Linked DNA regions of Homo sapiens: regions 2, 3 and 4 are each linked to region 1. Evidence: promoter capture Hi-C in human tissues and cell types (Jung and others, 2019). All regions are on one chromosome and are shown on one strand. Each heading gives the region's core, a stretch centred on a gene start or on the middle of the fragment in contact. The rest is flanking DNA. Distances are from core to core; before and after follow the strand shown. Region 1 holds the start of APOBEC3B (apolipoprotein B mRNA editing enzyme catalytic subunit 3B). Region 2 has its middle 44 kb from the start of TNRC6B-DT. Region 3 has its middle 11 kb from the start of TNRC6B-DT. Region 4 overlaps FAM83F (family with sequence similarity 83 member F).

The links. The method cuts DNA at HindIII sites, captures the fragments that hold promoters and counts their contacts. A contact is called where the count stands out against the background at its distance.
Region 2: a contact is called between a fragment that was not itself captured here and the fragment with the promoter of APOBEC3B in region 1, in 1 of the 25 tissues and cell types used here (dorsolateral prefrontal cortex).
Region 3: a contact is called between a fragment that was not itself captured here and the fragment with the promoter of APOBEC3B in region 1, in 1 of the 25 tissues and cell types used here (dorsolateral prefrontal cortex).
Region 4: a fragment that was not itself captured here is called in contact with the fragment with the promoter of APOBEC3B in region 1 in 1 of the 25 tissues and cell types used here (dorsolateral prefrontal cortex).

Annotation. Positions count from the first base shown.
Region 1 is chr22:38,981,031-38,988,412 of GRCh38, forward strand. APOBEC3B (apolipoprotein B mRNA editing enzyme catalytic subunit 3B) reads left to right here and starts at 1,317. Exons shown (of 8, transcript NM_004900.5): 1 at 1,317-1,440; 2 at 3,045-3,201; 3 at 4,782-5,061; 4 at 5,268-5,382. The coding sequence starts at 1,424. RefSeq lists silencers at 1,451-1,500, 5,465-5,660 and enhancers at 3,699-4,898, 3,941-4,230. The HindIII fragment of the contact is 18,696 bases long and covers 1-7,382 here.
Region 2 is chr22:40,084,891-40,092,272 of GRCh38, forward strand. It overlaps a transcript of TNRC6B not described here. Among named protein-coding and RNA genes, the nearest start is that of TNRC6B-DT, 44 kb to the left of the region's middle. The HindIII fragment of the contact is 3,769 bases long and covers 1,269-5,037 here.
Region 3 is chr22:40,051,596-40,058,977 of GRCh38, forward strand. It overlaps a transcript of TNRC6B not described here. Among named protein-coding and RNA genes, the nearest start is that of TNRC6B-DT, 11 kb to the left of the region's middle. The HindIII fragment of the contact is 4,520 bases long and covers 2,112-6,631 here.
Region 4 is chr22:40,020,298-40,027,679 of GRCh38, forward strand. FAM83F (family with sequence similarity 83 member F) reads left to right here. Exons shown (of 5, transcript NM_138435.4): 4 at 993-1,666. Among named protein-coding and RNA genes, the nearest start is that of TNRC6B-DT, 21 kb to the right of the region's middle. RefSeq lists enhancers at 2,383-2,883, 2,884-3,384, 4,803-4,872. The HindIII fragment of the contact is 7,125 bases long and covers 1-6,377 here.

The sequences.
Region 1 (7,382 bases), core at 67-2,566:
TGATAAACGGAACTGTTTATTTTCCACCGATGGTCTTATCCTTTGTCCATCTCTTTCTGACGGCAACAGAAAACTTCACCTTCCAGAGGAGCGCCTCTGCCTGGCTGTCCCACCGTCTGGGAAGTAAGGAGCGCCTCTGCCCAGCCCCCGCACCGTCTGGGAAGTGAGGAGCGCCTCTGGACGGCCCCCGCACCGTCTGGGAAGTGAGGAGCGCTTCTGGACGGCTCCCAGCAACCCCCCAGGTGTGAAGTGACAGCCCTGTGTGTGATCTTTCTGCCCTCCCCAAGTTTGCATTTTCGACAATAAAATTTACTTTTAAATTAAAAGATTTATACTGGGGAAGATTTAAAAAAAAAAAAAGAAAGAAAAGAAAACTCACCTTCCAAAAACAACCACTGGGAGTCCGCTTTGTGCAGAGGTTGGACAAGCTTCTGTGCAGGTAGGGGCGCTGCTGCTCCCCCTACCACCCACGCATCCTCCTCCCTGTCTGCATTCCCGTCGTCGTAGCCAGAGGAGTTCAGAGCCTCTACAGAGAGCACAACTTCTCCAGCTGGAACAAACTCCCCTTAAAGGAATCTATTTAGGAAGATTATTTCAATGTACATTCATTCCTCCAAAATATGCTTAGATGGACTTAAATAATCAGAAAGCTGTGTGTGTATGTGTTTCCCGTTTTCTTGGCCCACAAAGAACCCCTTGAGAGGTCCCTGGGCAGTGAGCCTGTTTATAGACACCCTTCTCCCTTCCTTGGTGTCGCAGACATCGCAGTCCCTCTGAGGGGCTGACCTGCCCCCCACCTTCTGGAAGCTGGGAGGTTGGAAGAGGGGACGCATGCCATGGACCCAGCACACAGCTGGGAACTCGAGGCACACCTAAGCCTTCCCTTGTGCTGTGCGGAGTCCACACTTCCTTCCCCACTGGAGTCTCAAAACCTCCCCTCACTCAACAGGGTGGTGCTGCTCAAAGCTCTGGGCACACATTAGGGCTGGGGAGGGGGTGGTGGAGAGGGGGCTCCAGCCTGCCCAACCACCAGGCAACGGGGCACCTGCCCCTCTCTCAGCTGGGTCTGGACCCGCCTCCCAGGCTCAGGCTGCAATGCCTTTCTCTTTCTCTTTGCAATTCCGTTGGGTCCTGCCCAGGACAGATAAAGACAGAGCAGCCTGTCTTTATTGGAGGTTCCTCTGCCAGCGGGAAGGGTCCGGGGAAAACCAGAGCCAGAGCCAGAGCCAGAGAAACATGAAGCACCCCGGGGCCTCCCACACCAATGCCTGAGCAGGAATGGGGAGGGGCCATGACTCATAAGGCCCTGGGAGGTCACTTTAAGGAGGGCTGTCCAACTGCAAGGACGCTGTAAGCAGGAAGTGAAACCACAGAGCTTCAAAAAAAGAGCGGGACAGGGACAAGCGTATCTAAGAGGCTGAACATGAATCCACAGATCAGGTACCGCTGCCCACTCTGCCTGCTGGGCCCCTCCTGCCCCTTCCTGCCTGGTGGTCCTGCTGGGCCTCAACCCTGGCCTCCCCCCGCCCCTGCCCCAGCCCTGGGCTCCCTCCCCTCTGGCTCCCCTGCCACACGAATCCCAGTCAGGCTCTTTGTCCTGCTGTGTGGTCACCCCACTGCTGCTTCTGAATGGGCTGCCTCCCCTACCTGCACCAGCCCAGGCCCCGTGCTGAGACTCTCCCTTAAAGTCATGCCCGGACTGGTGCTCCCCGCCCTGGGAGGGTGCTCCCTCTGTGTGCTTCCTGCCACTCCTGAGCTCAGAAACTGGGAGAATTGAACCAAAGGGTAATTGGAGCAATCAGGCATTTTTGTTCTCAGTGTTTTGATGAAATTTCTGTAAGAATTACTTTGCTTAAATACAAAGTCTTAGGAGAGGGTGCGGGGGTAGGAATGGTCTCTGAAGCACATGATAAATCGTGTCATCCAAGGATGACTCCATGGTGAGCAGATGTCCCCAGACAGGTTCCACTCCAAGGTCACTCTTCATCTTTTAGAACATGACCAGTGGTTGAGCGTGGTGGCTCACACTTGTAATCCCAACACTTTGGGAGGCCAAGGCGGGCGGATCATGAGGTCGGGAGTTTGAGACCAACCTGGCCCATATGGTGAAACCCCGTCTCTACTAAAAAACATACAAAAATTAGCCAGGCATGGTGGCGCATCTCTAGTCCCAGATACTCAGGAGGTTTAGGCAGGAGAATTGCTTGAACCTGGGAGGTGGAGGTTGCAGTGAGCTGAGATCATGCCACTGCACTCCAGCCTGGGCGACAGAGTGAGACTTCATCAAAAAAAAAAAGAAAGAACATGATCAGTAACATGGAATGTGAGAATGTGGGAAAAAAGTGCAATGATGAGGAGAAATGCTCTGATTTTAAAATTTAGTGAAAAGAGAGCCCAGTCCCCAACAGCTTTCTCCTACAGGATCCGTGATGCAGAGGCTGGACAGGGCTGGCCTGGAAAGGGGCCCCTGCTCCATCCGTCCCCAGCTCTGTGGCCTCGGCAGGTTACCCCGCCTCTCTGTGCCTCTGGCATCTCCTCTGTAAGATGGGAATGGCCCCTGCAGGCCTAGGGTAGCCTCACGTGAGCTCACACCCGCTCAGCACTTAGAAGAGTGGCCTGGGCCTCAGAATTCAGTTCTACCATGATTTTAAAATAATGTTAACACGCAGAGTGAAACATCAGGAAGGAATTGAGCTGAAAGGTTAAAAGCTATTTTTTAGGGGTGAAGGGTTTTATTCTCTTTTGCATTCTCCTAATGGGTTGGGGAGTGGGTTGGCAGAAATACTAGGAGGGTGGGGAATGTACCCCTGGAAAGGCCAGAGTTGGACCCGAGCTGGGAGAGATCACCCCAGCCCGCCTGCCAGCATCCCCTCCTCTTCCTCTCCCCTCAGTCTTCCTGCCTGGGAAGGCAGCAGAAATTCTCAGGGCTGTGGAGGGGTCGGGGAGGCCCAGGGCCATCCTGGGAGCTGTGTTCAGTGGACATGAGCCCCGAGGACTCCCGGGAGGGCTCCCTGCATGGGCCGGTTTCTCTCTTGTGCCTTCAGAAATCCGATGGAGCGGATGTATCGAGACACATTCTACGACAACTTTGAAAACGAACCCATCCTCTATGGTCGGAGCTACACTTGGCTGTGCTATGAAGTGAAAATAAAGAGGGGCCGCTCAAATCTCCTTTGGGACACAGGGGTCTTTCGAGGCCAGGTACCACCCAAACTTCAATCGAATCACAGGCAGTGTTGCAGGAATTAGAGGACTGGAGAGACTGATATGGGTGAGACAGGAGGATTTATTTAGGTGCACTGGTTCAGCAGACTCACATCCAAAAAGGCTGAGCCCTTAACAAAGACAGACTGAGGTATTTATAAGCAAACTTACAGAAGCAGAACAAAGGCGATTAATCAAACAGTGACAGGTCACATAATCTATAGCATAACAGATGACTTAGCATAACTTGGGGCCTTCTATAGCTGGTGGCCTTGCAGCTACATCAAAAGGAAAACAGGAACTGGCTAAATACAGACATTTGTAAAATATAGTTATAATGGTTCTGGAAAGGAGAGACAGTAAAGGAATTTGTCTTTTTTTTAAAAAATTTTTTTAAAATTTTCTTCAACCTTGCCCTGGAGGGGTGTGGGGGTGGTGTCTGGAGCCCATTCCTTTGGCCTTGACTTTTCAGGCAGTGTTATAACTGTCGTTGGAGTGAGCTGGCTAGGCAGAGGAAAACTTGTTCTTCTTTTCTTTTTAACCCTTGCTACAGTAGGACCTAAGCAGCTGGAAATGCAGAAAACACAACAATAAGTAAAATGCCCAGCACTGGGCTCTCAATTGTGTATTTTTCCCACATTTCTTTTTTCTCTTTTTTTCCTTTTTTTTTTTTTTTTTTTTTTCCGAGATGGAGTCTCGCTCTGGCACCCAGGTTGGAGTGCAATTGCACAATCTTGGCTCACTACAACCTCCACCTCTCAGGTTCAAGTGATTCTTCGGCCTTAGCCTCCCGAATAGCTGGGATTACAGAAGGCTGCCACCACGCCCAGTTAATTTTTTCTATTTTTAGTTGAGACTGGGTTTCACCATGTTGGCCAGGCTGGGGAATTCCTGACCTCAGGTGAGTCACCTGCCTTGGCCTCCCAAAGTGCTGGGGTTACAAGCATGAGTCACCGCACCTGGCCACTTCCCACAGTTCTGTTTTTTTGTTTTGTTTTGTTTTGGTTTTTTTTTAAGACTGAGTTTCACTCTTTGTTGCCTGGGCTGGAGTGCAATGACTCACTCTCAACTTCCACCTGCCAGGTTCAAGTGATTCTCCTGCCTCAGCCTGTGAGCTGAACAGTCACATGAGGGTGAAGGTTGTTGCCACAAGCTCAGGGGATGCTCCAGACAGAGTGGCCTGGGATGTCGAGTCACAGCTGCTCCATGCCACGGGGACAAGAGGAAGCAGGAGTTTAGTCTGACACACTGCCCTTCCAGATAGAGGGCAAGAGACAGAAAGAGGGGCTGAAGTCACCCTTGAATAACCACAGCAGTGGCACCCACAAAGGTGCAGTCCCCACAGCCTCATAGCCTCTTCTAGGTGCCACCTCTTAAGGCCATTACAATAGCCATTAACACTGAACGTGAGCTTTGGAGCAGACAATCACTCAAACTAAACAGGGGGGATGGAGGAAAGGAGCTTCAATGGCAAGATCCCCTGGGCTCCTGTCCTGGCCCCTCCTCTCCCTGCCCCACCCCTGCACTCCTCCTGCTCCCCCTCTCAGAGCATCCCCTGCCCCCTGCTCCTCTCCCAGGTGTATTTCAAGCCTCAGTACCACGCAGAAATGTGCTTCCTCTCTTGGTTCTGTGGCAACCAGCTGCCTGCTTACAAGTGTTTCCAGATCACCTGGTTTGTATCCTGGACCCCCTGCCCGGACTGTGTGGCGAAGCTGGCCGAATTCCTGTCTGAGCACCCCAATGTCACCCTGACCATCTCTGCCGCCCGCCTCTACTACTACTGGGAAAGAGATTACCGAAGGGCGCTCTGCAGGCTGAGTCAGGCAGGAGCCCGCGTGACGATCATGGACTATGAAGGTGAGAGGTGGAGGGGTCAGGGGAGCGTGAGCGGGAGGAACAGCATGAAAGATGGATGGATCTGCAATGCCATGGCTGGGGGTGTCCCAGGGCAGCCTGCAGGGGTGGGACTGGCACTGACTGCAACTGACAGCCAGGAGACCAGGCCTGGGAGGACAGGCCAGGGTCAGGGGAGAGCCTGACTGCTTCCCGCTTCTTCATCTCAGAATTTGCATACTGCTGGGAAAACTTTGTGTACAATGAAGGTCAGCAATTCATGCCTTGGTACAAATTCGATGAAAATTATGCATTCCTGCACCGCACGCTAAAGGAGATTCTCAGGTGAGGGTCTCCCTCTGGCCTCATCATCTCTCTCCTCTCACCTGCTCATCCTCCTGAGGCCTCCGTTGGCCTGGCCCTCCCGCCCTCCCTCTTGACCCACTGCCTGCCCTCATGGTCACACCACCTTCCCTTAACTCCTGGTGCTCCCTCCACACTGCCTCCTCCCTGCTTTCCTGGGCCCTTCCTGTGAGTAAGAGGCCCCTTCTGCCTCTAAGGCACCTGGGTCTTGGACTAGAGGAACAAACAGCAAGACAGGGTGGCCTGGGACACCAGCCGCTGCCCTTCTGTGACATGGGGACAAGAGGAGGCAAGAGCTCAGCCTTCCAGGGAACAACTCTGGGCAGGAGATGTGGAAGGAAGGAGCTCAGTGTGGGGGCACCCATGGCATCCTGGGGGGACATCTGAGGGCCACCCCCACCCGCTATTCCTCCCTCCAATGGTGGCCTCTGAGTGTGAAGGCATGGGGGAAGGCAGACACCTGCCCCTGACTCTCCCTCACTACCACATAGCTGCTGGGTGGCTGGGGACGGGGGGGGTCCCTGGGATGATTCCTGAGGGCAGGATCCAGGGGTCCCTCCAGATGTCCTCCCATCCAGGTGAGAAAGCAGCATAAAGTGAGGCTTGCACTCAGATGGGCCTGGGAGGTCACTCACAGCGCAGGTGTCTCCTGGAACAAGGGCCCTGGAAGATAGAAATAGAATCCAAACCCAGGACTAACATCAGGGCCAAGACAAGCCTGCCAGGGAGGCTGCACATGAAGCCCCAGATCAGGGACCACTGCCCGCTCTGCCCATGGGGCCTCTGCTGCCCTTTCCTGCCTGGTGGTCCTGCTGGGCCTCAGCCCTGGCCTCCCCCTGTCCCAGCCCCAGCCCTGGGCTCTCTCCCCTCCTGTTCCTCTGCCACCCCCACTCCCAGCCAGGCTCTTTGCCCTGTTGTGTGGTCGCCCCACTGCTGCTTCTGAATGGGCCACCTCCCCCACCTGCCCCAGGCCAGACCCCCTGCTGAGACTCTTCCCTGAAAGTCACCGCTGGGCTGGTGCTCCCTGCCCTGGGAGGGTGCTCCCTGTATATGCTTCCCACCATTCCTGAGCTCTGGAACTGGGAGAATTGAACCAAAGGATGATTGGAGCAATCAGGCATTTTGTTCTTAGCATTTTGATGGAATTTCTGTAAGATTTACTTTGTTTCAACACAAAGTCTTAGGAGAGGGTGTGGGGGAGGAAATGGTCTCTGTACCAGAAAATAAGTCATTTCTTCCAAAGACGCCTCCGCTGTGAGCAGAGGAGGATGCACACGACCCCAGACACAGGCTCCTCCTCCGTGAGCACCATTCACCTTTTAGAATGACACCTGCAACATGGAGTGTAGGAAAACATATGATCAGGAGAAATGCTCTTATTTTAGGCAGGGCACGGTGGCTTATGCCTATAATCCTAGCTCTTTGGGAGGCTGAGGTGGGTGGATCACTTGAGGTCAGGAGTTGGAGATCTGCCTGGCCAGCGTGGCAAAACCTCCTCTCTACTGAAAATACAAAAAATGAGCCAGGCATGGTAGCGGGAGCCGGTAATCCCAGCTACTTGGGAGGCTGAAGCAGGAGAATCGCTTGAACCCGGGAGGGACAGCAGTGCTGGTCACGGAAACACCCAGGACTCAGGACTGAAGCACAAGTGTTTCCAGTCCCCACACACTAAAAAGGAGACAAGAACTCCTCTTCGAGCTTTTCTGATGAGCACTCACCTCTCACCCTCAAACCCCTGGGGCCTCTCTTTTCCTCCTGACCCTCTCTCTGGACCTGGCCTCTTGCTCTAGGTTCCCAGTTTTGGTCCCAGTGCTGGTCTCTCCTCCAATGGTACCAATTCCAGGTCTCCTTCCACCTCCTGGGGCAGATGCACAGGGAGCCTGAAAATCCCAGTGGATAATGATGCTGTGCCCCAGCCAGTGAAGACAGTTGGAGAGGGGATTCTCTTCACTTGTCTTTAAATGAGCATCTACTATTTCTTG
Region 2 (7,382 bases), core at 1,903-4,402, 1.1 Mb after region 1:
GATGGCCCAGTGGTCCTTGCCTCCTGGTATCATGCCTTTGTGTAGTCCCCTCTCCTGCTGAACAGGGCTAACCTGTGTAACCACTGGAATATCGTGGCAAGGATGGTTTGTGATTTCTGTTGTTAGGTCATTGCAACTTCTGCCTCCCTCTTGTAGAGCACTTGCTCTGAGGGAAGTCAGACTGCTGTGTTGTGAGGACATTTCAATAGCCTGTGGAAAGGCTCACATGGAGAGGAACTCCAGCTAACAGCTACCATGTGAGCACTTTGTTTTGGAAGAAGATCTTCCAGCCTCAGACAAACCTTCAGGTGACTGCAGCCCCTCACACGTACATATTTCATTCATAAATATCCTGTGCGTCTCTCTAAAAGGCAAGGACTTTTTTAAAAAAAACTTAAGCCTTATACAATTGTCACATCTAAAAATGTAATTCCTTAATATTACAAAAAATTCAGAGACTTTAAAAATTTGTTTTAGTTGTTAAATTTGGTTTATTTGCATTAGGATCCAAAAAAAGGGACCAACATAGTATCTGGTTAATGTTTCCTAAGCTTCTTTATCTGTAGCTTCCCTCACTCTTCTTCCCCTCAATTTATCTTAAAAAGAAACTTGGTTGTTTGTCCTATAGTTTCTTACATTCTGGATTTTGCTAATTGTGTCCATTCAGAGTGCAAGGAAGAGTGTTCCTTTACCTTGAATTTTATGTAAACTTGTAGTTATATCCAGAGGAGGCTTGATCTAATTCAGATTGGGTTTTTTTGGCAAGAATATTTTATAGGAGGTGGTGTTTACTTCCATCAAGAGGCACATAATAACCAGTTGTTTCATCTAATCTTATTATGATGTTAACAGCTATTGAAGAGCAATACTAAGATATGTTAATTAGGGTTTACAAAATGGTAATATCCTAAGTCATTTGTCTTTGTTTGTTAGCTAGAGAAACTATTTTTGTTGTTGCTGTTGTTGTTGTTGTTGTTGTTGTTGTTGTTGTTGTTGTTGAGACAGGGTCTTGTTCTATTGTCCAGTCTGTAGTGCAGTGGTACAAACATGGCTTATGGCAGCCTAAACCTCCCGGGCTCAGGTGATCCTCCCACCTCAGCCCCTCTAGTAGCTGGTACCACAGGTGCACACCACTATGCCTGGCTAATTTTTACTTTTTTTGTAGAGACGGGGTCTTGCCATGTTGCCCAGGCTGGTCTTGAGCTCCTGGGCTCAAGCAATTCTACTGCCTTGGCCTCCCAGAGTGCTGGGATTACAGGCATGAGCCACCATGCTTGGCCAGAAATAGTCTCTTATCCACTCTGTGGTTAATCTGAGGTATATTCCATTTAGGAAAGGCAGATTAAATGATTGATTCTTTCTCTTTTTTATCAGTTTTCATAATAATAAATTGATTCCCTAGTATCCTCCAAAAGAGACCAGTAAGGTCTTAAAATATACTTATTTCATTATGAACTGATGGATTTCATCATATTTCATAGATGTGAATCCATTGCAATGATTATTTTTTATTGATGCTCAAATGATCCCATCCTTGACTAGTGAGAGGAGCCCCTTCAAGTTGGTTTCTGAAGACTTTTTATAGTGTCCTTCCTTTTGGTATGATGATATGTTTAGGTTCATCTTATGCATCTTCTGTCTCAGCCCTCAGTCATTTCTTCAGGGAGCTCTCGTTCTTTTCAGCAGGAAAGGATATATGGAGGCACATTTGGATGCTTGAACAATGGATGACAGACTTTTTAATAGATACTTATCAGAATATCTGTAGAGTTCAAAAGATGTCTTCTTTCACCTTGAATTTGAATGGAGAGAAATTCAATTTTTTCTTCTATGAAATATGGAGTGTTTTCGTTTGTCGTTAGAGAAAAAGGAAAACAAAGGTTTTAGATAGAAATAAAATGAAGCCTTAACTCCCCTTTAAAATTGATTGTCCTCTCTCTGCCATACTTTGTTCATCATGTCCAGTGAAGAGAGATGCTAATAAGCTTTTCATATTTCCAGCTACATAAAAACCAGGCAGTGTTTAAAGATTATCATTATAGCATTTGTTTGATGTATTTCTTAAGTCTTTTTTTTATCTCCAGGTCCCCCGTCCCTGTAGGCTCCCCTCTCACAGACACAAGCCTTCTTCCTGGCATTTTTAGGAGGGCCTGGTGTTGTGTTTGGAAAATTTTGCTTTATTATATATCCTCAGCTTATACTGCATCAGTAGTGAAAAGCTTAGTTTTGTGTTTGGTGTAAGTAATGTGTTTCTGGATATTTTTATCATAAAAACTCATTATAGATAAGAGATGGAAATATATCATTAGAATGATTGTATATTTAAATTATGAATCAAGTTAGAGGAGAATGGAATATTGCCCCCTTATGGGAAGACTCTGGAATGTAGAAATTTTTTTCAGTATGTAACAACTTGGTCCTGCCTTCTTTCCCAGTGTTCAGGATCTAATTCAGCCATTTTATACATGATATGTTAAGCTTTTCATTAATTCAGTTATTCATTTGACACATACTGAGCACCAGAGTAATACCAGGCATGGTACTAGGAAATGAGAATAAAGAAATAAGAAACACACATGCTAAACTGACCATTTTCTAGTGGGAGAAAGACAATTATATATGTAATTCCAAACACTGGTAAGTGCATTTTAGGAAAAATACAGGGAGCTGTAAGAGTGATTAACTGGGGGGAGCCTGGCTTAGTCTGAGAGGACAGAAAGGCCTTTCTGACAAAGTAACATTTAAGCAAAGATTTAAAGGAAAAGTAGGCATTGGCCAGGTGATCATTGGGTCCAGAGCCTTCAAGCAAAGGGGCTAGCTATGTGTGAAGGTCCTGAGGGAGGAAAGAGCTTGAAGCCTTGGGGGACCTGGGAATGCTAGTGAGGCTGGAGACTGAGAGGGAGGCAGGGAATTAGGAGAGGAGCTGGAGATGTAGGCAGGGCCCTCATCACAGAGGCTGCTGTTGGCCTCCATCTCCGTTACAGATGTACAGCGTTTGGTGACCCAGACTAGAGACCAGACATAATACTTTTCAGGACCTCTTGGTCCTCCTGGGAGATGCTGGGAACTCTGAGTTCAGCTTTTCTCTCCTATTTCTCGAGGGTCCTTTGTTAATAAAGAAATATTTTTAAAATTATTCCTGCTTACCTTGTACTTAAGAGTGAAAGAAACTTTTAATAAACGGAATTATTTTTGGCTAATCTTCAGAAACCTTCACTCCAAGGATGAACTCATAAAAAGTTGTACCTTTAAAAGACTTTCCTATCTCGTCTCATCCTCACAGCGACCTTATAAGGTGGATATTTACTATTTTTCACATCATACAGAAAAGAGACTGAAGCTCTGAAAAATTAGGTAGTTCCTCAAGGCCAGCTAATAGGTGGTGAAGCAGGAACTGGACAGCGGGCCTTCTGACTACAGACCCAGTGGTGTTTGTGCTCTGTTCTTCCACTTACTATGAATGCAAGAGCTTCTACATATTTTGATCTCAGTATCTGCAACTTATTTATTTTGTTTTCTTTGTTGTTGTTGTTGTTTTTGAGACAGAGTCTCACACTGTTGCCCAGGCTGGAGTGCAGTGGTGCAGTCTCAGCTTACTGCAACCTCCGCCTCCTAGATTCCAGCAATTCTCCTGCCTCAGCCTCCTGAGTAGCTGGGATTATAGGCACCTGCCACCATGCCCGGCGGCTACTTTTGTGTGTGTGTGTGTGTGTGTGTGTGTGTGTGTGTGTGTGTGTGTGTTTTAGTAGAGACGGGGCTTCACCATGTTGGTCAGGCTGGTCTCTAACTCCTGACCTCAGGTGATCCACCCACCTTGGCCTCCTGAAGTGCTGGGATTACCTGTGTGAGCCACCTTGCCCAGCCAATTTATATTTTTTTAATGGAAGAATAAATCATACAAGCTTAAAAATTATGAGAGAAGGAGGAAGGAAATAGGGTAGAGGGGACAGGGAGAGAAGCTAGACTGCCTTAAATATGGTTGATAGCTTTTTTAAATGGAAAATGAGAAACAAGTAAACCTAAATTTTAAACCTCACTAATTCGAACTTTACATTCTTAGTGGGTATATGCCCTGAGAGTGAAAAAAGAACTGCAACAAACAGTAGCAACAACAACAAAGTCCTTCAACTGTACTCATGTGGAACATACCAGTGATCTTGTTAGTACTATTTTGAGATTGTTGTTGAGTGTATATTGTCAGAAAAAAACAAATGAGTAATTATGTGGTACTTTATAATTTCCACTGTTTTGAGATCCAGATTCCCAACATGGGTGAAAGGAGATACAAATATAAAATAAAAGAGGTTAAATAAAACCCTGTTAACTTGATTTCTTCATAGACTTTTTTTTTCTTTTTTTTGAGATGAAATCTCACTTTGTCACCCAGGCTGGAGCGCATTGGTGTGATCTTGGCTCACTGCAACCTCCGCCTCCCGTGTTCAAGCGATTCTCTTGCCTCAGCCTCCCCGGTAGCTGGGATTACAGGCACACACTACCACACCCAGCTAATTTTTTTATTTTTAGTAGAGATGGGGCTTCACCATGTTGGCCAGGCTGGTTGTGAACTCCTGACCTCAAATAATCCACCCGCCTCAGCCTCCTAAATTGCTGGGATTACAGGCGTGAGCCACTGCGCCCAGCGTTAAGACTTTTTTTTTTAATTGGCAGTTTTAGGGTCACAGTAAAATTAAGCAGAAAGTATAGAGTTATCATATTTGCCTGTTCTGTGTCCCTGCCAGCCTCCCGCAGTGTCACATCCCACACCAGAAAGGTCTATTTGTTATAAATGATGAACTTATGTTGGTACACCATTATTACTCAAAGTTCATTTGCATTAGGGTCCGCTCTTGGTGTTGCACATTCTATGGGTTTGGACAAATGTATGATGGCATGTATCCATCATAGAATCATGCAAAGTGGTTTCAGTGCTCTCAATCTTCTCTGCTCCACCTAGTCATCCCTCCATCTCCCTGTCTTCTGGCAACCACTGATCTTTTTACTGTCTCCGTAGATTTTTCTTTTCCAGATGTTATGTAGTTGGAATCACATAGCCTTTTCATGATGGCTTCTTTCACTTGGTAGTATGTATTTTAGGGTTTTTTCACATCTTTTCATGGCTTGATAGCTCATTTCATTTTAGCATGAATAATATTCCATTGCCTGGATGTACTCTAGTTTATCCATTCACCTATTGAAGGCCATCTTAGTTGCTTCCAAGTTTCAGTAAATAAAAATAAAGCGGCTGCAAACACCATGTGTGGGTTTTTGTGTGAACATAAGTTTTCACCTCATTTGACCAAATGTCAAGGAGCACAATTTCTGGATTGAATGGTAAGAGTAAGTTTAGTTTTGTGAGAAACTACCAAACTTGTCTTGCAAAGTGGCCATACGGTTTTGCATTCCCACCAGCAATGAAGGAGCATTCCTGTTTCTCCATGTCGTTACCAGCATTAGGTGGTGTCAGTGTTCTGCATTTTGGGCATCTAATGGGTGTGTAGTGGCATCTCATTGTTTTTTTTTTTTTTAAATTTGTAGTTCCCTAATGACATATGATGTTGAGTATCTTTTCGTATCCTTATTTGCCATCTGTATATCTTCTTCAGTGAGGTGTCTGCTCAGGTCTTTTACCATTTTTAATCAGGTTGTTTATTTTTTATTGCTGAGTTTTAAGAATTCTTTGTATATTTTGGATAACAGTCCTTTATCAGATGTATCTTTGTATTTTCTCCCAGTCTTTGACTTATCTTCTCATTCTCTCGATTAACTTAATTTTGAATTACAAGTTGTGGTATGAATTATTGATATATTTTATCTTAGACAAAAAACACCTCCTAACCCATTCAATTGAAAAATCCTATAAACAGTGACCAGTAGCAATGTGTAACCCTAGTCCCCAAATTGTGGTCTTGGAATACCAATTCTCACTAACAGGAAGCAGGGTTATTTGGAGAAATCACTGATACAGGAACCGGCTACACCACGTAACAAGGAAGTCATAAAAGACTGTGATCAGGATCACATCAAAAGAACCAAAGAACATACAAGAGAAGACTCTCTTCATCCAATGATGAGACAATCTGAATACCAATAAAGTTTTTTTTATTTTTTTGAGACGGAGTCTCACTCTCTCGCCCAGGCTGGAGTGCAGTAGCACGATCTTGGCTCACTGCAAGCTTCGCCTCCCGGGTTCACGCCATTCTCCTGCCTCAGCCTCCTGAATAGCTGGGACTACAGGCGCCCGCCACCACACCCGCATAATTTTTTTTTTTATTTTAGTAGAGACAGGGTTTCACCGTGTTAGCCAGGATGGTCTCGATCTCCTGACCTCGTGATCCGCCCGCCTCAGCCTCCCAAAGCATGATGATATTTTTTAAAAAAGCTATTGGATACCACTTGCTAACACTACATTAACCATATACCATCCCTTTCCTATACAAACAGATCTGGCTTCTAGAGCTATATAGTAATTTATAAGAATTACAGAGGACAGAGCAGCATATTAGTACCACCATCGGGTACAGTTGGAAAAATCCAGATTATGTGAAGCTCTGGGGTCTTCAACAAATAAATTGCAAAGAAAAAAAAAAAGCACAGCAAAGCAAAGTCTTGTGTGACATTTACGAGACAGTTGGAAGTTTGAATACTGGCTGATTACTTGATGGTATTGGGACTGTTACTAATGTTTTTAAAGTGTAATGATGGTATTATAAATTTTTAACGGTTTTTAAAAATATATTAGAGATAGGTATTTACCAGTGTATTTATCAATGAAATGTCCTTGCATTAAAACTAATGTGAAGGCAGGGATACCAATAAGGGATACAGGTGAAAGAGTGTTGGCCGGGAGTTAACTATTTAAGCTGACGATGGGAACTTGAACGTTCATTATATTATTGTCTACTTCTGTGTCTAGCATTTTTTATAATGAAACTTAAAAAAAAACTTTCCTTGAGAATTTATAACCACAAACTGGCCCGTGTATGGGTGTGAGACTTGAATTCATACTATCTGTGCAGTGTAAAATTTAAATTGTTCTTGGGTTAGTAGTGCCTCCAGGAACCTGCCAGAGAAACATAAATCTTCTCAGGAGAAAAATACACCTTACTTAGGACTCAAATATGTCTCACAAATAAAATTATTCAGAAGTCGAAAATGAAGAGTCACAAAACACTCAAAACACTGAGCTACAGTGAATGAGTCAGCAGAACCAACAAAAATGATCAGATTTGAGGCCAGGCGTGTTGGCTCACGCCTGTAATCCCAACACTTTGGGAGGCCGAGGCAGCTGGATCACTTGAGGTCAGGGGTTCGAGACCAGCCTAGCCAACATGGAGAAACCCCATCTCTACTAAAAATACAAAAATTAGCTGGTCATGGTGGTA
Region 3 (7,382 bases), core at 3,122-5,621, 1.1 Mb after region 1:
CTCCCAAATCGACCACAGGCACTACAGTTTGAAAGCCTTCAATGGTGTTTCATTGCCTAGAGGGTTTAAATGCTTTAGCTTGTTATTTAAAGTTTCTGGACTAGCACTGTCCAATAGAAATAGAATGTAAGCCACAAATATGAGCCACATATGTATAGATTTTCTAGTAGCTACATTAAAAAAGTAGAAAGGGGTGAAATTGATTTTTATAGCATTTTATTGACTTCAGTATATCCAAAATATTAACATTTAAATAGGTAATTGGTAAAAATTATTAATGAGATACTTTACATTCTTTTTTCTAGTTAAGCCTTTGAAATCTGGAGTGTATTTTTCGCTCATAGACATCTCAGTTCAGAGTAACCACATTTCAAGTGCTCAGTAGCCACATGTGGCTAGTGGCTACCATGTTGGACAGCACAACTCTAAACCATGCTCTCCACATAGTTGAAGGGCCATACCTGGGTACTTCCAGCCACTGGTCTTTTGGCTACTATTCCCCTCACCTAGAACCAGCTTCCTTATCCAAATGTGCCAACCTTCCTTGCCAAGAAACACAAGGGGACCCCAAGATCAAAGGGGGACCCTAAGATTAAAATTTAAGTTCTCGTCATATTCTCTGAAAACTTTTAACAATTTTTTTGGTGTCATTGTTTTTTTCATATAGTGATTACTTACGGTCTTTACCAATTTGCGTTATAATCAGAGGTAATATTACAATATTTAACAACAGATAAAGCATGAACCAATAAGAATCGGTGTCTGATGAATTAGAATTGATGGCAGCTGTACACAGCCTCAGTGTTCTCATTTGTGTGTACCTGCTTAATAGCAACGCTGTGTATTGTATTTTTTTTTTTTTTTTTTTTTTTTTTTGTTGAGGCAGGGTCTTACTCTGTCACCCAGGCCGGAGTGCAGTGGCATAAACATGGCTCATTGCAACCTCCATCTCCTGGGCTCAAGCAGTCCTCCCACCTCAGCCTCCTGAACAGCTGGAACTACAGACACGCACCTCCACACCTGGCTCATGTTTTGTAGAGATGAGGTCTCACTATGTTGCCCAGGCTGGTCTGGATCTCCCAGGCTCAAGCAATCTGCCTGCCTTAGCCTCCCAAAGTGCTGGGATTACAGGCGTGAGCCACCATGTCTGGCCTGTGTATTGTTGACTTCCCCATAGGACTGAGTTTCTTGAAGGCAGGCATTTATCTTACCCGCTTTGTATCCCTAGAACAGTTTCTGACCAGTTGTGTAGTAGTAGGCAGTGTGTAAATGTTTTAAATAAATGAACAAATGTTACCTTCTATTCTCTTTTATTCTTTTTATGTGCTATGCTTTGTCTTTCTAGTTAGAAACTGAAATGTAAGTCCTTTGAGTACAGAGATCATGAATTACGAAGGTGTATATGGTATATTTGCTTGGTTGTCTTCATGGGAGCATTTCACCATCCTCTGAATGTCGATTTGTGCTTTCTTTTTCCCCCAAACCACCTTATTGAGGTATGACTGACATACTAAAAGCTTTAGGTATTTAACATATACCACTCGATGTGTTTGGAGATTTTCTTTAAAAAAAAAAAAAAAAAACTATGTTTAGATATTGTTATGGATTTTCAGGTTGGGTCATTAATGAAGTTTGACAGTTTTAATAAGACTGACTTTCTTTGTGGTTTATAAACAGGCTCCGAAAGCAGCTTCAAAAGTAGAGCTCCAAAATAGTTCCATAATTATTGTAATTAATGCAAGTCTTCCAGAATTCGGGCAGAGTTGGAGAGTCTCTGAATTAGGAGTCAAAAGTCCTGGATTCATTTGTATTGCTGACATTTGCTTGAGTGCATACTGGGTGCCAAGCGCAGGAATGACTGAAAATTCAAAAACTACAGTATGGAAAAAAAAATACCCCTTTAACACACAGGTGAAATGGTTAATTCTTCCTAGGAAGATTGAATTTCTCTCTGTTCTCTTAGACTTTACTCATTTCTGACATAGACTACATTATATCATGTTTCTTAATCTGTCTCTCCTGCTGGATTGCAAATTTCTTAAGTGAGACTATTGTAGTCATCTTTGCATCCCTAGGCACATACTGTACTGTGTCTGTCATATCGTAGACACTCAAATGTTTGTTAAATAAATAACTTGAAGTAAGTTACTTAGCTTTGCAGAGTCTTAGTTTTTTCTTTTGCAAGTAGGAACTTCTCTACTTCAGAGAATTGTTGAAACTGTAGTGAGAATAATCTTTTAAAACTACAGATGTGTTCTGTGTATATCTTAATTTAAAACATTTACTTAAAAAGCAAGTGTAAATCTGATCATATTTCTCCCCTACTTAAAACTGTTAATAACTGGGTGCACAGGCTCGTGCCTGTAATCCCAGCACTTTGGGAAGCTGAGGTGGGTGAATATCTTGAGCTCAGGAGGTCAAGACCAGCCTGGGCAACATAGCAAAACCCTGTCTCTGCAAAAAATACAAAAATTAGCTGGGCGTGGTGGTGCCTGCCTGTAGTCCCAGCTACTCAGGAGGCTGAGGTGGGAGGCTAGCTTGAGCCTGGAGGCAGAGGTTGCAGTCAGCCGAGATTGCGCCACCACACTCCAGTGTGGGTGACAGAGTGAGACCCTGTCTCAAAAACAAAACTGTCAGTGAGGCCTAAAGACCCTGATAAGAACCTGAATTCTTGTTCTTGCCTTTTTCACTGACTGCCCAGTGAAGCTTCTGCCAGCGTCCCCTGCCTCTTTTCCTACTGTCTTCCCCCTTGCTGAGTGTACTCTCACCATACTGACCCTCTTCAAGTTCCGGAAATGTGTGTTCTTCACTACCCAAGGTCCCTTCCTTGAGCATACTATTCTCACAGCTGGAAGCCCGCAGGCCCAACCTTAGTTAATGCCTCTTCAATCCTGAGCTCAGTGTGTGTGTCTCCTCTTTAATGACTTCCTAATCACCCCGCCCCACATTAGAAGATATCAATTGTATAATTATTTAATTTGTATATTATATTTCCCCTTCTGGAAAATAGCTACATGAATAAAAATACTCTGTTTTATTCACATTTGTGTCACCAACATCTAGCACTGTGAGTTGCACATAGTAGGTCCTCAATAAATATTTTTTCAAATGAAGTTAAGAAAGAGAATTTAAAATAGAATTTCTAAAAAACCTCATTTTAGGCAAAGCTTGGTGGCTCATGCATGTAATGCCAGCACTTTGGGAGGCCAAGGCAGGCAGGTCACTTGAGTCCAGGAGTTCGAGACCAGCCTGGGTGACATGGTGAAACCCATCTCTACAAAAAAAAAAAAAATTAGCTGGTTGTAGTAGTGCGCGCCAGTAGTCCCAGCTACTCGGGAGGCTGATACAGGAAGGTTGCTTGAGCCCGGGAGGCAGAGGTTGCAGTGAGCTGAGATTGCACCATTAAGCTCCAGCCTGGGTGACAGAACAAGACTCCGTCTCCAAAAAAAGAAAAGAAATTATGCTTGGGCTTGACATGATGACGCTCTCACTAAACATTTGAATGCATAGACATGCTGAATGCTGTGCTAGGAGCCAGGACTACAGAGGTGGGGCGAAAGGAGATCTTTGTTCCCAAGGAATGCACAGCCAGGTGGGTGAGACAGATGTGGACACAGATGAGTGCCATTTAGTGTAATAAGTGCTGTAATAGACAGTACAAGAGGTGCTGCGGGGATGAAAAGGAAGGTCATCAACACGATGGGGAGGTTGAGAAAGCCTTCCCAGGGAAGGTGACACTCACACTAAGTTGTGGAGGAAAAGGGCATTTCCGGCAGAGAGAACAGCCTGTGTAGAGGCATGGGGGAGCGTTTTTAGTATGTGGAGAAGATGACCGGCACAGCGGTATGCTTTACAAGGCTGGCATTAGGGTACAGGGCTAATAGCTGACTTACAGTTGAACCATGATATGTCAGACTCAGCCTCTTACTCCACTGCAGTTTAGGACAGGAAATGACCTTAGAATAATGATCTGAATCTGTATGTTTGAATTCATAAAGGCATAGAGTACCATTCAGAGAAGATAATCATAAACCACAACGGCACTTGTCACTTCTAGTTAATATACTTGCTTCAGTGGTGTACCTATAACCATGCAAATGATGTTAGGTGGAATTAGAAAGTGGTGACTCATTTAAGCTTATCTGTAGGAGCAGAGAGTGTAAAGGAAGTGACTTCTAGATCACCTGAGGTGAGTGCTGATACCATCTCAAATGGATCAGACACTGAACCAGTGAAAGAGAGGAAATCAGAAAAGAGGACTACCCAGAAGGGCCTCTGGTATATGTTCTGGGAAAGACAGTTCCTACAGCTTGAAGGTCTTTACATATCTCCAAGTCTCCAAGTGGTTCACTGAGCTAACATTAATCTAATTTAATTCTCAACCAGATTTGAAAAAGGGAGATTAATTGGATAAAAATGTAGCCCATTTTCCTTCATTTACTCCTATTTGTTTTCAATGTCTCTTTCCTTTTCTGTCTCCTCCTATCCATTTTTCTCTCCCTGTTACTCTTAAGTAGTGTCTCCTTTCCCCATCCACCCCATCTCTAGCCATCTTCCATTCTATTTCCGCTAAGTTGCTTTCAGTTGCAGGATGTCCATACCTTGTTGGCTAAACTAATGTTTCTCAGCTTTGCATATTCAGAGCTTGATATTTTTCAAATGGGAAGAAGTGATTATGCTCTGGTAGTGCTGATTACACTCACAAGATGTTAATTGACTTACGGTAATGCCGATTTCTGCAAGTTCTGTGTATGTATTTGATCTACATAACAAAGGGCTAAGGAGCTAAGTGATGATAGGGAGAATGGTAGTAATGAATGCAGTTTAGTTTAAGATGTTTGGAAGAGAAAGGACAGAGAAAAATGGAAGCAGGACGAGGTTGAGAAGGCAACACCTTTAAGTAAGATAGAAAATCAGGCTGGGTGCAGTGGCTCATGCCTGTAATCCCAGCACTTTGGGAAGCCAGAGTAAGAGGATCACTTGAGGCCAGGAGTTCGAGACCAGCTTGAGCAACATAGTGAGACCCCCATCTCTACAAAAAATGTTTTAAACATCAACTGAGCATGATGGCACATGCCTGTAGTCCTAGCTACTCAAAAGGCTGAGGCAGGAGGATTGCATGAGCCCAGGAGTTGGAGGCTGCGGTGAGCTAGGATTGCATCACTACACTCCAGCCTGAGAGACAGAGTGACACCCTGTCTCAAAAAAAAAAAAAAAAAGAAAGAAAAATCTATAATCTATTAAAAGATATACAGGAAGCACCCAGCGGAGAAAGAAAAATGGAAGTTGCTTGAATAGAGATGGTAGCAGATTTGATGGGGCAAGGCCACCAGATTCCTCCCATGGGCACAGGTAGACTATATTCATTGGAAGTTCCTTGTAGTATCTCAACAGAGTAAGAAGTCGTCATGGGTTCTCATCTTGGATACCTTGAGCTCAAAATGAGTTTATGCTACTTTGTTTTGTCATGGCACCCACTAGAATGGTTTGCACATAGTAGGTGTAAACAGTCGAGATAAAGTCACAGGATTGAAAGATGATACTGATTATACCTTTAAACTTCTTACCAGGTAACACTATCTGTGGTTTATGACAAGGGAACATGTTTATTAATCCTCTTGTGAATAGTACAGTTACATTGAATTTTTTTCCTAAAGGTGTTGATTTATTAAATGTGTACATTGAAAATATGCCAGGTTTTTTTTTTTTTTTTTTGAGACAGAGTTTCGCTCTTGTTGCCCAGGCTGGAGTACAATGGCACCATCTCGGCTCGTCGCAACCTCCGCCTCCTGGGTTCAAGTGATTCTCCTGCCTCAGCCTCCCGAGTAGCTGGGATCACAGGCGTGTGCCACCACGCCCGGCTAATTTTGTATTTTTAGTAGAGACAGGATTTCTCCATGTTGGTCAGGCTGGTCTCAAACTCCTGACCTCAGGTGATCCGCAGCCTCCCAAAGTGCTGGGATTACAGGCGTGAGCCACCCTGCCTGGCCCAGAATTTTCATAATGGTGTTTTGGCATGTCTTTATTTAAAAAAATATATATACATATCTCGAGCCTCAAAAACTGGAAGTGGACCAGGCTTTCTAACCTGGAGACCCCCTGGTCAGCATATCAAGAGAAATGTCTTGGGTACTTGCTGGGTACAAGATTCTGATGTGGAGGAAGGCAATCCAAAGTAAAAGATGAAACAGCTGCTCTCTGAGGAGCTAAATGTCTTTCTCCTGTGAAAATCCTGCTGATGGTGTCTCATGCTCAGTAATATCCTTTTCCTGAGGAGAGGTTTTACTCAGATGTTATCTCTGTAGACCTTCTAAATAAAGACTTTCCTGTTAGATGTACCATGGACAACAGATTTTAAGTTAATATTTCACCATCTACTCTTTAGTCAATTTTGTCAACCTTCTTTTTACTATACAAGTTTTATATTTTTACACCAATATGTTTAAAATTTACAGTGTTTTATCTTGCATTTTGGCTCAATTGCCTTAAACAAAAGGCCACAATACTTACTGATTCCAGCTTAAACCATGCAGGTGGGTCTGTGGACTGCTCCAGAAAGAGGAGATCTTTTTATGCCCCATACCCCAGTATGTAGCCAAAAGGCTCAGAGGGGAAAATACTACTTTTACAACACCAAAAAACAAAAACAAAACATAAACGGTAAAAAAGGCTCTTGGTAGAAATCACAAAGAGAAGAAGAATGAATGAAGATGTAAAAGACATCACATTTCAAGCCAGTAAGGGATGGTTTGAAAACTTTAAAAAGGGGGCCCTCTACCTGTCCTCCAAAACTTGTGACTCAATGTGCTTTAGCACAATGTGCTTTAGCACAATGTGACACAATGTGCTTTAGCACATTGTGGCGCCAGCCTGCGCTTCCTGAACTGGCCAGAGCCGGGACTCAACCGATGCAGCACGTTAGCTTTGGAAGCAGACAGTCTCTAGACTGACTGACTGTACTGAAAAATGTGTATTTCATGTCATTTTCTCTTGCTTTGCTTTAACCTCCTATTTTTCAGACCTTGGGCTTATCATTCAGGGTGCTTTTCAGAAAGGTAACTGGAGGCTGGAGAGGGGCCCCTACTTCACCTCCGTCTGGAGAGGCGTGATGCTGTTGGATACCCTGTCGCTGGCAACCCACCTGCCCAGTACTTGAATCTTGAAATTCTGACACATTGAATCTGGAAACATTGCCATATCCTTTAGTTTTTCTTTTCTCTGTGGCTTTGGACTTTGACCTTCTCATTTTTATGTTCATGCCACCATCCTGAATCTAAATCATCCTTGGTCTATTTCTGGGTTATTTAAATAGCTCTCTAGTCAGTTGTCTTGTTTCTAGTTTCTCCCCAGAAAACATTTCCTACGTACTATTTTCTTTTCCT
Region 4 (7,382 bases), core at 1,565-4,064, 1.0 Mb after region 1:
GGGATGCACCAGATCTGGAAAGAAACGGGAAGGTGTGGTGTGCAGGGAATGTCGCCAGAATTTTTTTTTTTTTTTTTTTTTTTGAGACGGAGTCTTGCTCCGTTGCCCAGGCTGGACTGCAGTGGCATGATCTCGGCTCACTGCAACCTCTGCCTCCCGGATTCAAGCGATTCTCCTGCCTCAGCCTCCCTAGTAGCCGGGATTACAGGTGCCTACCACCATGCTCAGCTAATTTTTGTATTTTTAGTAGAGAAGGGGTTTCACCATGTTGGCCAGGCTGGTCTCGAACTTTTGACCTCAAGTGATCCGCCCGCCTCAGCCTCCCAAAATGCTGAGATTACAGGTGTGAGCCTGGCCTCAGAATTCTGATTTTAAAATAATTTAGCAGGAACACGAGAGACTGTATCTGTGTAATCTCTGCCCTCCAAGTAAATTAAAATATAGGTGACGAGAAGAGAGAGCTGAGCACATGAAACAGTGAATAGCAGGGTAAGTCCTGTCACATGGTCAGAGTATGGGTTTCTGCAGACACTAAGTGCTTAAAAAAATCAGAAAAGAACCAATACAGAGTAGAATAATATTCATAATAGTGGCAGCTGCAGTTACTATTTTTTAAATGTGTGTTTGTGCCAGGGACTGAGCTAAATGTTTTATATGAGTTACTTCATTTGTGCCTCACAACAACCCTGTGAACATATGTCCTGGGAGCCCCAGCTTACAAGGCACATGAGAATATAAACCAGGTTTAAATGCAGGCCTGACTTCCCATGCTCTTTCCCTGCACCCACTGCCTGCTTGCTTCATTTGAGGCCAAGCTCTGGGGAAAGGGAGGCTACGGGTGGGTGGAGGGAATCAGTCCAGCGTGTGGCCCACAAGGAGCCGTACACCTGCAGCAAGGGTCTGGCCACAGCGGAGGGGCAGGTGGGGGCGGGGGCAGGGCAAGAGAGAGGCCTGGGCACATGTGTCTTGCTTTTCTGTCCCCACGTTCCCAGGTTCACCTGGAGTTCCTCCCATGTGGACAGAAACCTCCTCCTGCTCCTGACAGGACAGAACGTAGAGCCCTTTGACACGGAGTTCCGGGAGCTGTACGCCATCTCCGAGGAGGTGGACTTGTACCGGCAGCTGAGCCTGGCGGGCAGGGTTGGCCTCCATTACTCCTCCACTGTGGCTCGAAAGCTTATCAACCCCAAGTACGCCTTGGTGTCAGGCTGCCGCCACCCGCCTGGGGAGATGATGCGCTGGGCTGCCCGGCAACAGCGGGAGGCGGGCGGCAACCCGGAGGGGCAGGAGGAGGGCGCCAGCGGTGGCGAGTCGGCCTGGCGCCTGGAGAGCTTCCTGAAAGACCTGGTTACGGTGGAGCAGGTGCTGCCCCCCGTGGAGCCCATCCCCTTGGGAGAGCTGAGCCAGAAGGATGGCAGGATGGTCTCTCACATGCACAGAGACCTGAAGCCCAAATCCCGAGAGGCACCCAGCCGAAACGGCATGGGAGAAGCGGCCCGGGGGGAGGCCGCCCCCGCCAGGCGCTTCAGCAGCAGGCTCTTCAGTCGCCGAGCCAAGAGGCCTGCGGCGCCCAATGGCATGGCCAGCTCTGTCTCCACCGAGACCTCTGAAGTGGAGTTTCTGACGGGGAAGAGGCCCAACGAGAATTCCAGTGCTGACATCTCAGGTGAGCCCTCTTCCCTCTGGCCTGGTGCCTCCCCAGGCCTCTGGCCCTCGCCCCGCATCGGCTCTTATCCAGGAGCACTGCCTCATACCTGCAGAGGAGTAGATTCCATCTGTGGGCACAGAGAGGGCAGGAGCTCTGGGGTTCCGGGGTCCTTGGTTCCCATTCTGGCCCCGGCCATTAGCTGCCTGGAGGCCTTGGGCAAGTCCTGCAGCTCTGAGTTTCATTTTCCTCTTCTCTGAAAAAAGAGAAGGATTCCAGGCTTGGCATGGAGGGGTCTCAGAGCTTCTAATGCTACTGCTAGAAGGCATTCAGATCAGCCCTCATGGTAACCCAACAAATCAAATAAGCTGAGAAACTTTCTCCTTTGTAAGTGAAGAAACGGGGGCTCTGCACAGTGGGGTGCATGGCTGCAGCTCGACCCTGGCTCTGAGTTGAGGGCTCTTTCTAGCAAACCTTTTCCCTTGCCAGATCACCTATTGTCAGGATCTCACCTGGTTAGACACACCCCACCCTCCCCTGTACCCTACTGGTGCCCTGACCCAGTTTCCTGTCTCTGTGACGGGCAGTCCGACTTGGTTTCTCCACGTCCCTCTGCTGAGTGCTGTCTGCCCAGCTGCTTGTCCCTGGGTGGGATTGTTCCATGGCAGCGTCTTTCTGGGCATCTCTCTGGGATCCCCAGGAGGCCCTGGACTTTATGTCTCTCTCTGCAGCAGTCTCTGGGGTGGCCTTTCAGGTGGCTGGTGGCGGTGCCTTTCTCATCTCTGCATCCCTGAGTCAGGGGACTTTCCATGGTGGGGTTTCTCCCTCCATCGCTGTGGAGCCCAGTGATGAGAACTGGGCTCTGGCTGGCCAGGTGGGCGATGGCAGGGCCTGAGGTCTTGTGTGCCCGGCCCAAGGGCTTCCAGGACTCCTGCATTCCTGCACACCAGCTTTAACCGGATTGTGATGGTGTGAGAGCAGGGAGCACAAGTGTCATCCCCTCTGCTAATTCCCCAGCACTGCTTTGGAGTCTGACACATTCTGTGCTCAGGAAATGTTGGCTAACTTTGCTTCTTGGAGTTGGAACAGGCCTGGGCGCCTCTGTGGCTGTGGGCACAGTGGGAGTGTCAGGGCGTTCCTTCTGTTTGGCCTGGAGACGTTGACTGAGCTGCTGGCTTGCCAGGTCCTGCACAGGCACTCTCTCTCCCCTTCTGCCCCCACAACCACCCTTCAAGCACAGAGGTGGCAGATGGCTCGGAGAGGTGAATGAAGTGGTCCCAGGTCACAGGAAGTGGTAGTAAGGCCAGGATTCAAGACCAGGCATGGGCACAGCCATGTTCTGTCAGGGGAGGGGTGGCTGGCCCCATCCCCATTCCTCCTGGGCTCCCTGGCTCCCCTAACACCAGCTGCTGCTGCTGCTGCTGCTCCTGCTCTGTACCTCTGGTTTGGAGGAAGGGTTGCCATGGTGAACACCTGGCAAGGGAGCGAGGGGAAGAGGGGAAGGAGGTGGAAGAGGGGAAGGAGGGGGCGAGCCGACAGCAGCAAGGACTATTTCCCGAGTCCTGACTGAAGTGGAGTGGAAGCTTTCTCTTCCTTCAGCCCCTCGCCCTGAGATGCAGTTTCCATGGAAACTCAAAGCCCATTGTCTTGTCCCTTCCCGCTGCCTTCTGCGTGTCCCTCCACATCCATGTCCCTGCTCCCACATCTCGGGTGGTCACGGCGGCCCTGCCCCTGCTGCCGCTCTCTGGTGTCTGCACATGGTGCCCAGGAGCCAGCCTTGCAGACACAGACGGTACCCTTGGGAAGCTCCTCTCCAGGGCACCTGATGCTGGGATAGAGAGAGAGAGGGAATAGTGAGGGCGAGGGCACGGACAGCCAGGAAGGTCCGGGGATGCCCGGAACCATCATCCCGTTCCTTGTCCGTCCTTTAGACGAACACAGAGCAGCCTCCTCCGGTAAGGCTTCTGCCCACCTGGGTGGGCGCCCAGTACCTGCAGTCCTGAAATTCACGCACCTTTCCTCTCCCTCCCAAGGCCTGAGGGAGAAGCAGCAGCTCCTCTCCTGTCTTTTGCTGGTTTTGTTTGTTTTTAAGACAATGTCTCGCTGGAGTGCAGTGGTGCGACCACAGCTCATTGCAACCTCAACCTCCTCGGTTCAAGCGATTCTCCCACCTCAGCCTCCTGAGTAGCTGGGCTCACAGGTGTGTGCCACCATGCCTGGCTAATTTTTTAAATTGTTTGTATAGACAGGGTCTCATCATGTTGCCCAGGCTGGTCTCCTGGCCTCAAGTGATCCTCCTACCTCTGGGCCTCCCAAAGCGCTGGGATTATAGGCACAAGCCACCGCGCCTGGCCAGGAGCTCCTCTCCTAAGAGGCCCTTTTTCACGGCCTCCAGCTTCCCACACCATGGCCAAGTGGGGCTGCTTCAGTGTCTCCCCTCAGGCAGCAGCAGCTAAGCAGCCAGGACTGCATGTGTGAGAAGGTGGGCCCCTGACAGCATGGGGCACCCACCGTGGGAATCAGTGAGAACCTGAGCTCCTGCCTTTGGGCCCCCATGCAGGGAAAGTGTCCCCTTCCCCTGGTAAATGTTCAGAACCTCCCAGAGCAGCTGCCACCTGGCTCTCAATTCGGGACACATTGCTCCCTGTACCCAGGACACATCCGTCCCCTCCCTGGGGCTGTGTTCTCATCTAGAAGGTGGGGGAGTGCACCATTGAGGGTTTCCGAGGTCCCCTGGAGTTCAGATTCTGCCTCTGTTCTTTCTGTCTCTGCTGCCCTCTTGTCAAGGGAGAACCTGAGTTGATGACAGTTTCTGTCATAAGAGAAAAAATAGAAAAAGCTCAGAGCTGACAGCCTGTAAAATTGCTTGATAAGGAGTATATAGTTGTCAAACAGCATGCAAATTTTTGCAAACCCAGGTGTGGCCCTTGGGAGAACCTTAGGGAAGTTGCTTCCTCCTTTCCGGCTGGGGATCCAGCTGGGGGCCAGGGGTGCCCAGCGGTTTCAAGGCTCACGGCGCACTCTAGTGGCAGAAGCTAGGCGCCTCTTCTACGTCTTCCCTCCGCCCTCGCCTCCTGCTGGGAGTGTTCATCCCTTATTCTGGAGCTTCTGTGCCCTCCGCACAGGCTCCCTGGGTCAGGGACCCCCAAACTCACAGAGCAGCCTCAGTGGAGAGCCTTGGTAAACATGCAACGAGGCCAGGCGCGGTGGCTCATGCCTGTAATCCCAGTGCTTTGGGAGGCTGAGCTGGGAAGATCCCTTGAGCCCAGGAGTTCCAGACTAGCCTGGGCAACATAGCAAGTCCCCATCTCTTAAAAAAAAATTTAATTAGCTGGGGGTAGTGCCGTGTGCCTGTAGTCCCAGCTACTTGGGAGGTGGAGGCAGGAGGATCACTTGAGCCTGGGAAGTCGAGGCTGCAGTCAGCTGTGATTGTGCCACTGCACTCCAGTCTGGACGACAGAGAGACCCTGTCTCAAAAAAATAAAAGCAAAAGTAAATACAAATTTTAAAATGCAACAAATACGCTTGGAGAGGCCGAGGCAGGTGGATCACCTGAGGTCAGGAGTTCGAGACCAGCCTGGCCAACATGGTGAAACCCTGTCTCTACTGAAAATACAAAAATTAGCTGGGCATGGTGGGAGGTGCCTATAATCCCAGCTACTTGGGAGGCTGAAGCAGGAGAATCACTTGAACCCAGGAGGCAGAGGCTGCAGTGAGCTGAGATCACACCAGCCTGGGTGACAGAGCGAGACTCCATCTCAAAATAATAATAATAGAATTTTTAAAGATAAAAATAAAATCCAACAAATAGAGTCTGTACCACTGGGCAGGGCTTAGGAATCTGCATTTTAAATTAGGGCCCTCATTTTCCAGTGTAGCTCCCCAGTGCAGAGGGTCCTCAGACCAGCCGACTCCGTGGCGACTGAGGAAACACAGATGAGGCCCTGCCCTTTGAGTGCTGCCAGCCTAGGGGAGGAGATCCCTGTGCTGTGCCTGAGACCCCACCCAGTTCCCCCAGGGAGATGACTGGGAAATGGCCAACACTTTTGAAGTGGCGAGAGACATGGTGCCATACTCCATCACATGGAACTGGCGTCCTCCTCGCTGCCATCCTGCCTGATGACAGCATCTCACAATGAGACCCCCAAGGTTCAGAGAGGCCAGGCCCTGTGTCCGTGGCTGCCCAGGGAGAAAGGGCAGTGTGATCTCCTGCCTCCCCAGCCTTCTGCAGATATCATGGCCATCTCCAGAAGGCTAGGATCGGCACCGTTTCCCTGCACCTTTAAAGACTGTTTGGGCCCGGCGTGGTGGCTCATGCCTGTAATCCCAGCACTTTTGGAGGCCTAGGTGGGCAGATCATGAGGTCAGGAGATCGAGATCATCCTGGCTAACACGGTGAAATCCTGTCTCTACTAAAAATACAAAAAATTAGCCAGGCATGGTGGCACTTGCCTGTAGTCCCAGCTACTCGGGAGGCTGAAACAGGAGAATCTCTTGAACCCGGGAGGTGGAGGTTGCAGTGAGTGGAGATCACACCACTGCACTCCAGCCTGGGTGACACAGTAGGAATCTGTCTCAAAAAACAAAACAAAACAAAACAAAAAACTGTTCGGAAGAACCAGAGCCCCAAATAGAGGACCAGCCCTTTCCCACGGTGTTGTGGGGGCCGAGAGGAAGATGACAGCAGCAACTTGCTTCCCAGAGTGCCTCGGGGTCCTTTCCTGCCCCAGAGTCCCTGGGCCTGTGCTTTGCTTCCCAGTTTCTCTGAGGTGACCTGCAGTGACAGTCCCTTTCCAGAACTCTCCTGGGGTCCCTGGATTTATGTGTGGTTGGCCCCCTGGCTGGCAGTGTGGTCTGGCTCTGTAGAGCTGTGGCTGCTGGGCCGCTGGATTGGGGGACTTGTTCTCCTGTGTCATCCCTTGGGGCCGCAGGTCTCAGATCTCTCTCTTGCTCTTGCTGCGTCTGGGGCATCTGCTGCTGTTATTACTGTTGTTACTAGGATTGTGCTAAACCCCTAAGTAGCTCGCCGTTGCTGTCTCATGCATTTTATTCAATAAATATGTGTCTACGAAGTGTCTGCTCTGTGCCAGGCCCTGCTCTAAGTTCCTGGCACAGCTGTGAACAGAATGAACATGGTCCTTGCTTTTATGGAGCATGTTACCCTGGGGAGAGACGAGGATTAGGGGAGGATGACCCTTCTATAAAGGGTGCCAGGGAAGGCCTCTCTAACCAAGGAGCCTCGGAGCAAGACTTCAATGGAAGGAGAGGGCCCTGTGGACATCTGAGGGAAGATTCTTCCAGATACAGGGAATGCGAAGCCCTGGAGCCTGTGCATGCGGTTTGCACATCATTGTCCTTGTCATGGCTTCCATGTGGGTGACCTCTGCCTCCCTCTCTCCCGCACCACCTCACCTGCCAGCAAACCAGACTGACTGCAGGTCCCGAGTGCCCCAGGCTGCCACCCTCACCCCATGCTTATGTCACATGGCTCCGCTCCGCTGAGCGGCCCCTCCTCCCACCCTGCACCCGTTTTCAGCTCCACCTTGGCGTCACCTCTGAAGCTCCCAGGCCACGCATACTTTGTAAAAAAGACTATTCTGGTCATTTATACACCTTCCCTGTTCACCTGAGCAGGGCTGACTCCCCACACGTGGTCAGCTCCCAATATGTGAGCACTCAGGGAATGACAAGGGACACAGAGTTTGTCCTCAAGCCAAGCCAGTTTCTCTGTCCTGTC